Regions from separate parts of the Homo sapiens genome. Here regions 1 and 3 are each linked to region 2. Evidence: promoter capture Hi-C in 16 types of primary human blood cells and fetal thymus (Javierre and others, 2016). All regions are on one chromosome and are shown on one strand. Each heading gives the region's core, a stretch centred on a gene start or on the middle of the fragment in contact. The rest is flanking DNA. Distances are from core to core; before and after follow the strand shown. Region 1 overlaps USP38 (ubiquitin specific peptidase 38). Region 2 holds the start of ZNF330 (zinc finger protein 330). Region 3 overlaps USP38 (ubiquitin specific peptidase 38).

Region 1 (3,194 bases), core at 122-2,621, 2.0 Mb before region 2:
TAAATGACATTTAAAAAAATTTCTAAAGCCTATTCAAACTGTTATTCAAAACAAAACAACAATAACATATTCAAAATTAGATGCTTTCAAGGATACCACCCAAAGAAAAAAATATTGATTTTATGAGTCTATATATTCTAATAGATTTCCATACTCCCACTTACCAGTTCTATTTTCAGCAAAGTAACATCTATCAAAATAGTAAACTTCTGGACAGCTGCCAGTCCTTTCAGGAGTGCAATTACCCATGTATCCACATGCTGAGCCAATGGCCAGGATAGCCAGTCAATCATTCTGAAATTGAAGGAAAATGAAACAATCATTATTGAAAATATTTTCATTTAGTTAGTGATAACAAGAGTTACAGTAGATAATCACTCACTTTGTGAATAAACATTTACTGAATTTGCTGGTGAAAAGCACTGACCAAGATGTAGAAGTGAATGTAACAGGTGCTTGTTCTCATGGAATTTCCAATCTTGTAAACTGACAGTTTCTCATATCCAACATATTTCCATAAAAAGAATTTCTGATAAATTATTTTGCATAAACGCAAAACTTAAAATTTATGCTATATAGTGGCACAGGTTGAGTATTCCTTATTTGAAATGTCTGGAACCAGAAGTGCTTTGGATTTTCAATTATTTGCATTACATATTTACTGGCTGGGCATTTCAAATCCAAAAATTTGAAATCTGAAATGTCCCAATGAGCATTTCCTTTGAGCATCATGTCAGCACTCAAAAAGTACTGGATTTTCAAACATTTCAAATTTGGGATGCTCAACCTGTATCAAGAATTTATTAGGCAAATTTACTCTAAAAAGAGCAGCTGAAATGTAATCTGAACTAAGACATATGAATATGATCCAAGATTCCTCCTTCCTGGTGAGTACAGTCTAATATGAAATGTACTGTTTAAAAAGACTGTATTTTGAACTGTGAAAGAGGTATCTTTTTCAAATCCGACTATACAAAGAGAACAAAAAGAAACTTCAAATATATAAAAAAGCACTAAGTCTGTAAATATTGTAATGGCTTCATTTTGCACTAATGAGTGCTTTTCTTGAAAGAAAACTCATTAAATTACCCAATTTAGTGAAAAAAAAAAAAAAAGTAATATAGGATTGGACAGAGACACTCCCTAAAGTTAGATCTCTACCACAATGAAGATTGATACAACTCTTTCAGAAAGCAGCTGAAAGTCAGATGCAGTGGCTCACGCCTGTAATCTCAGCACTCTGGGAAGCCAAGGCGGCTGGATCACCAGAGGTCAGAAGTTCGAGACCAGCCTGGCCAACAGGGTGAAACCCCATCTCCACTAAAAATACAAAAATTAGCCAGGCATGGCGGCACGTGCCTGTAATCCCAGCTACTCGGGAGGCTGAGGCAGGAGAATGGCTTGAACCTGGGAGGCGGAGGTTGCAGTGAGCCGAGATCACGCCACTGCACTCCAGCCTGGACAACAGAGCGAGACTCCGTCTCCAAAAAAAAAAAGAAAGCAACTGAAGCAAATGTTCATATAATTTGACCTAGTAGTCCTATTTTTGGGATTATATACTAAGAAAATAGAAAGGGGAAAAATGAGTTTTTGAAGCCAGAGTGACTGGTTTAAAAAGCTCAATTCACCATTTATTAGCTAGGGGACCCTAAATACCTACATAGATTATTTAACCTCTCTGTTTCCTCACCTGTAAATTACAGATAAACATGCTTATTTTATAGCACTGTTGTGAAGATTAAATGAATTAATCTATAACACTGGAAACATTGTGAATGCCTCTCTTCCACCAAATGTTAATACATGTGGCAATAAATAAATACCTTGATTATACAAAATGTAAATATAAACACTAAGGACATAAATACATTACTAAAACAACAACTACTATGTTAAAAGGACTGACATCTTTTTTCTTTTTGAGACACAGTCTCGCTCTGTCACCCAGACCGGAGTGCAGCAGCATTACTTCAGGTCACTGCAAAGTTCGCCTCCTAGGCTCAAGCGACCCTCTCTCCTCAGCCATCTGAGTAGCTAGGACTACACAGCTGTGCATCACCACAACTGGCTAATTTCTGTATTTTCTGAGATGGGGTTTCACCAAGGGGGTTGCCTGAGCTGGTCTTGAAATCCTGGCCTCAAGTGATTTGCCCACCTCGGCCTCCTAAAGTGTTAGGATTACAGGTGTGAGGCACTGTGCCTGGCCAAAGGACTGACATCTTCATTTATATGGTTATTTTCACAACAGTTGTGTTATATAACTATCTACATTAACACTGGAATGTTTTTTATTAAGGTTTTTGCTTTTAAAATTAAAATGTCCATTCGGATATTAAGAGTGGTCCCAAAGTCCAAATGCATGTTAACTACAAGTTATGTGTATGTTCCCTCCATTCTCTACACAAACTTTATTTCCATTCTTGTTTTTCTGGCCTTTTCCAACAATGATGGTTACAAGTGATTAACATAGTCCTTGACAGCTATTCCACGTCTTCCAACTATTGTTGGGGTGATTCTCATAAAATTTTGTGGCCATTCTACTTATACAGAGTAGCAAAGCAGAGACACACTTGCATATGTGTACAGAGGGTATTCACTGTAGCACTGTTTATGGTATAGAAGAACTGCAAACAACCTAAATGATTGTCAATAAGGAAATGGCTACTATGGTACTGATACTATGCAACAGTATATAGAGTTTTAAATAATAAGATAGATGTACATGAATCTATCCATGAGGAATCTAAAATGGAAAGAGCTGAGAAATTGTTGAATTAACAAGGAAAAAAAAAACCACTGCAGTTTTTTTAAAAAACAATTTTAGTTTAAAAGAAAATCATGTGAATATATATGTAAATATGGACATAAAAAAGATGTAATCTAAAGGCAGGGTATGTGTGAGCACATCTTGGCTCTGTGGATTCTTTGCATCATGGGAAGTCACACTGTCAGAGCAGAACCAGACAGGGCTCACCAGAATACAGGTCTCAAGGCCAGTCTAAAGAGAGTACTGAGAGAGGACGAGAGCAGAGAGTAGAAAATTCCACTTGGCCATGGCTTTTCATTATCCTTCATTACTCAGTCAGCCTTTTTCTCATCCTTTCCATTTCTGCCTTTCCATCTCAAAAGCTTCCATTCTTTACCTTATTTCATGTATGCCAATCTCCTGACCACCTATAAATAAACTTCATATC
Region 2 (3,361 bases), core at 277-2,776:
CTCGGCGGTTCTCAGCCTTCTTCCTCGCACCAGTCTTTTTTTTAGGCATTTTCCCCTATTTTGACACAAGAGAACAGAAAAGATATAATTGACTGACTGCATTTACTATTTTAATAAACTAAGAAATAGTATAACAAAGTGTCCTTTTTCTTGTTAAATGTTAAACTCTATCCTTTCGATAGTTAAGCACATTCTAAGCCTTATGAAACGTTAAGCACATATTATTCCAAATGAAGCGGGTGATCCTTAACGCATTTATTGGCACTAACGATTCTAAAAATGTAAACGTCAAAAAAATTTACCCTAAAAGACAAACTAGTCTTCTTTTCCCACTAAGAAAAAAGTTTCTCCAATGATAAAGTATTCTGCACCTCATTAAAACAAATGAATCATGTATCATTAGCAAAAACAAAAAAATCATTAATAAGAGCATTATTTAGCCAGTTTATATCACTTTTTTGAGCTATATATTCAGATGACCTGACGCTGCCAACACCTTAAGTATAACAAGTTTAATTTTTCCTATGTAATATGTAAACAAAACATCTAACAGTCAACAAATAACACTATTTATTAACTACAAAGTCAAAACATTCTGAAGATATTTAAGGTATTAGTTGCTCTGACTTTAACAAATGCTCTTCCCTCTACACGCAGTGAGCATGTAATTTTAACGGGGTTCAAATTTACGTTTAAGAGTATGTTTAATTTTCATCATTTAGTTGAAATACAAGATTTTTCTAAACTGAAGTTTTCTGAACTGAATGCTCAATTAAAAAAAAAACAAAACAGGTGGTAAGCAGTACGGTAGCAACTGAAAAATAGCCAGATTTAATAGGTGGTTATTTCGGTAACGTAACGCCCAGACCACTAAGGCACCATTCCAATATGTAAAATGACAAAATCTAGAGGGCGTGCTGCCCTGGCCAAAGAACCTCAGAAAATAATCACGAGGTGATCATGCGGATTAACTTTCTGCGTCCTCAGAGATATCCTCTGAATCCTCTGATAAAGTTAAATCTCATTTTTTTTTCCCTCCAGTTTGTTCTGCACGCTCAAAAGAGTGAATCTTCTTCTCAGCCTTATACGGGTTCAAGCCCTTTTCCGGTAACACTCCAACTTCTTGCATGCACTGCGTGTGTCACCAAATGAGGAAACAGGCACGGGGCACTGCGGCTTTAGGAGTCCAGCCTGGAGCTGGAGGACCCAGTGGGGCGGAGGGGCGTCCAGGGGAGAAGCGGCGGAGGTGCCAGGCGGCTCGGGGACCCGCAACGGGGACCCGCAACCGTCACCCGCCCGCGGGACACCCTACCTCGTGCGCGCTCCGGGCAAACCTCGCTCACTTTCGCCGGGAGACCGGACTCACTCAGGGGGCCGAGGGACAGGGAATGGCGTGAGGCCCACCCGCGACAGCAGTAAATCCAACTCGTGGACCAGGACTCCGGGAAAGAAGGTACTAACAGCCAGGGAGGCTGACAGCCGATTCCGGACACTAGGAGACGGACCGGACGTCCTTTTACGACAGCAGCGCCTTACGGCTGACGTCATAGGACGGGAGCCGCCCACCTCTGTTCGCTCCGCCCCTTCCCCGCCCACTCCTGCGGGGGCCAATGCCCCATTCCTAAGCAGAGGATCTGCAGAAAAGGAAGGGAATGCGAGGGAAAATAGGGAAGCAGAAGGAGGGAAAGCAGGGGAAGGCCCCCTCAGTTTTACTTTTTTAGAAAAAGGAGAAATCTAAAAGGAAGAGGAAAATGAACTCACAGACTTGGTACTGGATCAATTGACTCAAACAGCAAATTCATGTTGAATTCTGTTGGAAACCTTTCCCCACCTCTACATCTTGCGTGCCTCACATCCCACCTTTTCTTGGTTGCTGCGCAAACTGTGCCTTCAGTTGCCTGATGAACTTCCGTACCAGCCTCCCCTGTCTCTTATTTCTGTTATGCCCTCTGGATTCCATTCCTTTGTGAACAAATCATCCCACATTCTCTACCTCTAATGTGTAATCTGCCTGCTTTTAACTGAAACCTGATGATCCTCCCCCTGCATCAGAATCTCCTTCCGATCAAGCACCTCCACCTTTGCATAGCCGACCAAGCTGGGTTTCCTAATCTCTTTCGGAGCTCTGCCGCACTTAGGATTCAGTACCAGGCCTATTCCTGTGCTTTTCCTGCCCTCCCCCTGCAGGAGATAAAAGCCTCTTTATTTGGACCAAAGAGGCCTTCTGGAATTTACTCTTAGATTTTGATAGCCAATTAACCATCTCAGCCTTTTGCTATTTTCAAAGAATCAATTTTACTTAGCAATAACAGTCAATGCCACTGTCATTAAGGTTACTATTTCCCTCATAGTTCTCAAATGCCTGATACATTTTACCTACTCGTATATAAATTAGAATACCACCCCAGTTACGTTAGAATACCACCCCAGTTTCATTACTGATGAAAGTTGTAACTATTGCACTGTTACCTTGTGCCGAGGTCTGTGTGTCCTACACCTACCACCGAGGGGGTCCTCATTGATAGTCACATGGCCTGTGATTCGAATCATAAATCCCATCTTAGCCTAACTTGAACCACTCCTGACACCAACTGTTTTAGGTTGGCTTCCCCAGGAAGCATACTCTGAGTCAGAGAAGAGTATAATGAGTATGTTAGGGAATGCTTTGGGGAACAACATCTGCAGGAGAAATGGAAGCAGGATTGAGCAGAGGGAAGAGTTGACCTGCAGTGACGTCTCAGTGAAGGCCTCGTTTTGAATCTGGGATATCCCTTCAGAGTTGTCTTGAGTTAGGGGAACTGGGCTGGACCTTTATACACCTATGACATTTAGTCACTGGATGAACGCTGCCAAAGGAGAAGAGTGCAACCTTGGGTTAAAGGACTCCTGAAGATGGCCAAGAGCTGGATTGTGTTGGCTTGCTGCACTCTCAGCAGCTCAGGAAATAAGTCTTTCATTGAGGAAGAGGGATCTGGGTAGTGCCTGCCAGTATTCACTACCAAGAGTGATGGCAAAATAAATATTCTGACAAAGACAAAGAACCTTTACTATTCACAGATACTCAGTGAAAGAATTTCAAAGGGCAGTCTTCACAAGATGAAAATGGAATTTAAAAGGCAGGAGGGAATACAAAAAGTAATAATAATCAATTTATTTAATATATAGGGTAAATCTAAAACATTATATAAAACGACAAAATTATAATAAGCAATTTGGGATATGAAAATTATAAGGAACTGAAATATTCTATAAATTCAATGCAATTCAAATCAAATCCTCATATAGATTTTTTTAATGGAATTTGGTTAATTGCTCTCTCAAATTCATAGGAACAATTAAAGATTGAAAAGCCCAGACCATT
Region 3 (3,319 bases), core at 530-3,029, 2.0 Mb before region 2:
AAAAAAAAAAAAAATTGAATATTTATTATTGTATTTTTGCTTTAAAAGGGTACTCTGATAATGAAACTTTGATTTACTACCTAGTCTTAATACAGGTAAATACCTTAATATAAAATTTGGTGGTATCTTTTCTTGCATCAAACAACTTGTCAATATGAAACTTAAGATTGAATCTAGAACAACTGCACAAAACTGAAAAACTGAATTAACAAAATACATAATGCTTTTTCTTTATAATAAAGTAACATACGAGTCTTAAAATAATAATGAAAAGAACAGCTCCTCATGCTCAAATATTGTATAATCAGAAAGTAATGGGGTAAAAGGCAAGATAAACTGGAAAATCACTTGGAGCTAAGCTACAAACAAGTGGTTGCTATGGCTATACAAGCATTTGGGATTCTAATCACAGAAATGAGAGTAGTTTTTTATCTTTCAAAACCCATATTTCTCCTCTGACTAGTGTTTATATGATATCTAGTAAGAAGGACACAGTTGAATACATTCTATTTCTAGCATGTTGATCATAAGCCATCTGACTAGATGTTAGAGTCTTCAGTAGTTAATCAGTTCAAACAAATATTCTGATTTTCTATTTTTTTCTGTAAAGTTTATTGTTTTTGTCACTCAAGAACATCGCTATACTTCTTTAAAAATGTGTATTTTATAACGCAGTAAATTTGAAAGCTTTTGAGAAAATTTCCCTCTAAAAATCAGTACTATAGTGGCTCATTTCTTATTCTATCTGTATCTTTCAGGAGTGACTTTCAAACACAGAATTTTCAAAATGTACTCATTCAAACTCAAAATCACTTAGACTACCCAATTAATGTACCTAGAATTTCACCTGTAATTTACTGCTAGCCCTGTATGTTGAGAACAAATTAGCAAGTTTCAAAAACAAAAAAAAAATACTTTCAGCAAGAATTTTAACTTTTTATTAGCCTTTATTTAAGTAATAAAATCACTAACTCCTTGAAAAAAGTATATTTATGAATAAATTTATCTCATATAAAACCATTCCTTGGCTTCGATTTACAATTGTTCTATTATCTCCTTGGTTTTACTAACCACATCCTCAAAGAATATGAATATCCTTTCTTTACATAGTCTACATTTTAGTGTTTTTTAATCTTATCCACCTAAATATCAATAAACAGCCCTTAAAACATTTACACAAAAGTCTTGAGGGCATAAATACCACATTTAGCAGTTATTTCCTCTGGTGGGTGAGGCTGAGAGGAAGAGGGAGGATATGTCCACTTTTGTAAACTTTCTGTATTTTGTATGGCATGATTTCAGAATGAGCCATCTTTTGTAAGGAACAAATAAAGTCTTCTGCATTACATCTAATTGCCACTTTTCATTTAAATTGTCACAATATTAGAAAGGCAATTTAGTTATACAGGTTGAGAATACTTCATGTAAATCCAGACCTATATTTCAGAATTTAATAAAAACTCATGTTAGATTTCAAAATGAGGGTACTCATTTAACTGTGTCAATTGTTTAATATTTTCAACAAATAAAGCTTGTATTTCCAACTTACCTGTAAATATAGTTTATTGTCTTTTGTTATAGCATCCATAAGTTCTTTCTGTAGAGGTGGGTCTCCATTTATCCAGAGTCCACTGGTTGGGTTATTACCACTTAAACCATTAGTACTATGCTGTTTTTTATACAAAAGCACATAAGCTGTGTCCTTTGGAAACCTGCTCGTAATTTTCTGGACTGACTGAAATGAAGTAAATGTCACTCTACTGTCATTAAATAAAAACCATTCTTTTGACATTTCCTTATTTTCCAAATCCTGTTCAAAAACTGCACTGGGACTATCTCTCCCTAGTAAATGACTCTGGGAGGATGCTAATGCCAGAGCCTCAGACTGGTGGTACATCTGATATGAAGAGTCTGTACTTGTGATATTCCTGGCATAAGAATAGTAATGCCCACTTTCAGAGGATATACCAGAGTGAACCACAACGGAACTTAATAGATAGGGCACCAATTTTGTGCAGGAAGCTTCATCAGTCCCTGAAGGCTTTAATTTTTTAGCAAGGTTCTCACTAAGATCAGTGAAGTCAACATCTACAGACCAACTTTCTGACAATGAAGAGAAAGAAGTAATTCTTTTAACTGGCAACTCCAAAACCAGTGGCAGTGATACATTGTCTAAAATTTTCCTTCTCACATGATACTTCTGATCATATGAAAATCTCAGGAGAGTAAGAATAAGGTATTCAGGTTCCTCCGTGATTTGCATAGTTTTCTCAGCATTTTGCAGAGAGGCACAGTTTTCACAATAATATTGGTTATCACCAGTAAGAATCTCTGGAGCCAAAAAATAATTTAGTAAGTCAGTTACTGAAGGTGTGGTTTCACCTCCTGGTTTCTGAGGTACATCTTTATTAACAAGAATCTTGTTAGATTCGTTAGGGACAGAAGTGTTTTCAGAACAGTAAAACTCATTAGGAGGACTGCCTATGGTTTTTTCATTCACAAGTGAGTCACAGATGAAGGCAGCTGTTGTTGGATTATAAACTACTGGTTCTTCTGAAGGACCGGGTACAGAGGCTTGCATTAGACCACCATCTTGTATACTGGGTGATGATGCTGGATCTTGGACAGACATGTTTTCCAAAGAAGAGGAAGGACAAAAGGCAAGCGAAAGATCTGTAAAGGCTTCCACTTTTTGTGAGGTACTCCTGCAGTTCAAACAACGTATGTGAGTTCGTAGTTTTCCTCCAAACATTTTTTCTATTAAAGTCTTCTCACCGTCACTTGTACGAGGGGTCTCTGTTAGTACTGCTGCTTTACTAGCTACTTCCTGTAAAGAAGTTTCACTGCATTCCAGAATTTCAGAAGGCTTGTGTGAGGCCTGAACTTTCAAGATCTTTTCTTCTTCATGGAGCCTGCAGCAGAGGATATCATTATATAGCTACTTAAATTAACTTCAAATGTCATTTCTATTTAAAAATATTAGTGGCTTCTATAAACTATTCTAATCAAATTTAATGTAAACAAATCAGGTTTTTCCTGTTTTAATTAAAAGAAAATTGAACAGTTTTGAGAATGCAGAAAAAAAGCTGGGTGGCTATTACTACTCTATATTCTCATTACACTTTCTTCATACTGCTACTTAATAGCATGTATTACATTGCAGTTAATTATAAACGTCCCTTAACTGTCTTATATATCTCTGTCTTCCTGACATCTCATAGAAAGTCAGGCACAAATAAACTACTGAATAGATTCTTAGCTGAATGGAAGGAAGGCTGCACATACCAAGCCCAACTAACTTTACTAGTCATTCCACAGA

The links. Contacts are between HindIII fragments. The CHiCAGO score rates a contact against its expected background, and 5 or more counts as called.
Region 1: a contact is called between a fragment that was not itself captured here and the fragment with the promoter of ZNF330 in region 2, in 2 of 17 cell types (total CD4 T cells and naive CD8 T cells). The highest score is 7.6, in total CD4 T cells.
Region 3: a fragment that was not itself captured here is called in contact with the fragment with the promoter of ZNF330 in region 2 in 1 of 17 cell types (total CD4 T cells); the score reaches 6.3 in total CD4 T cells.

Annotation. Positions count from the first base shown.
Region 1 is chr4:143,192,816-143,196,009 of GRCh38, reverse strand. USP38 (ubiquitin specific peptidase 38) reads right to left here. Exons shown (of 10, transcript NM_032557.6): 3 at 165-294. Among named protein-coding and RNA genes, the nearest start is that of USP38, 9.5 kb to the right of the region's middle. The HindIII fragment of the contact is 3,520 bases long and covers 1-3,131 here.
Region 2 is chr4:141,219,060-141,222,420 of GRCh38, reverse strand. It overlaps ZNF330 (zinc finger protein 330), which reads right to left and starts at 1,526. Exons shown (of 10, transcript NM_014487.6): 1 at 1,313-1,526; 2 at 1-55. The coding sequence starts at 49. RefSeq lists enhancers at 730-1,234, 1,235-1,741. The HindIII fragment of the contact is 10,650 bases long and covers 1-3,361 here.
Region 3 is chr4:143,213,174-143,216,492 of GRCh38, reverse strand. USP38 (ubiquitin specific peptidase 38) reads right to left here. Exons shown (of 10, transcript NM_032557.6): 9 at 1,550-2,912. Among named protein-coding and RNA genes, the nearest start is that of USP38, 30 kb to the right of the region's middle. The HindIII fragment of the contact is 491 bases long and covers 1,534-2,024 here.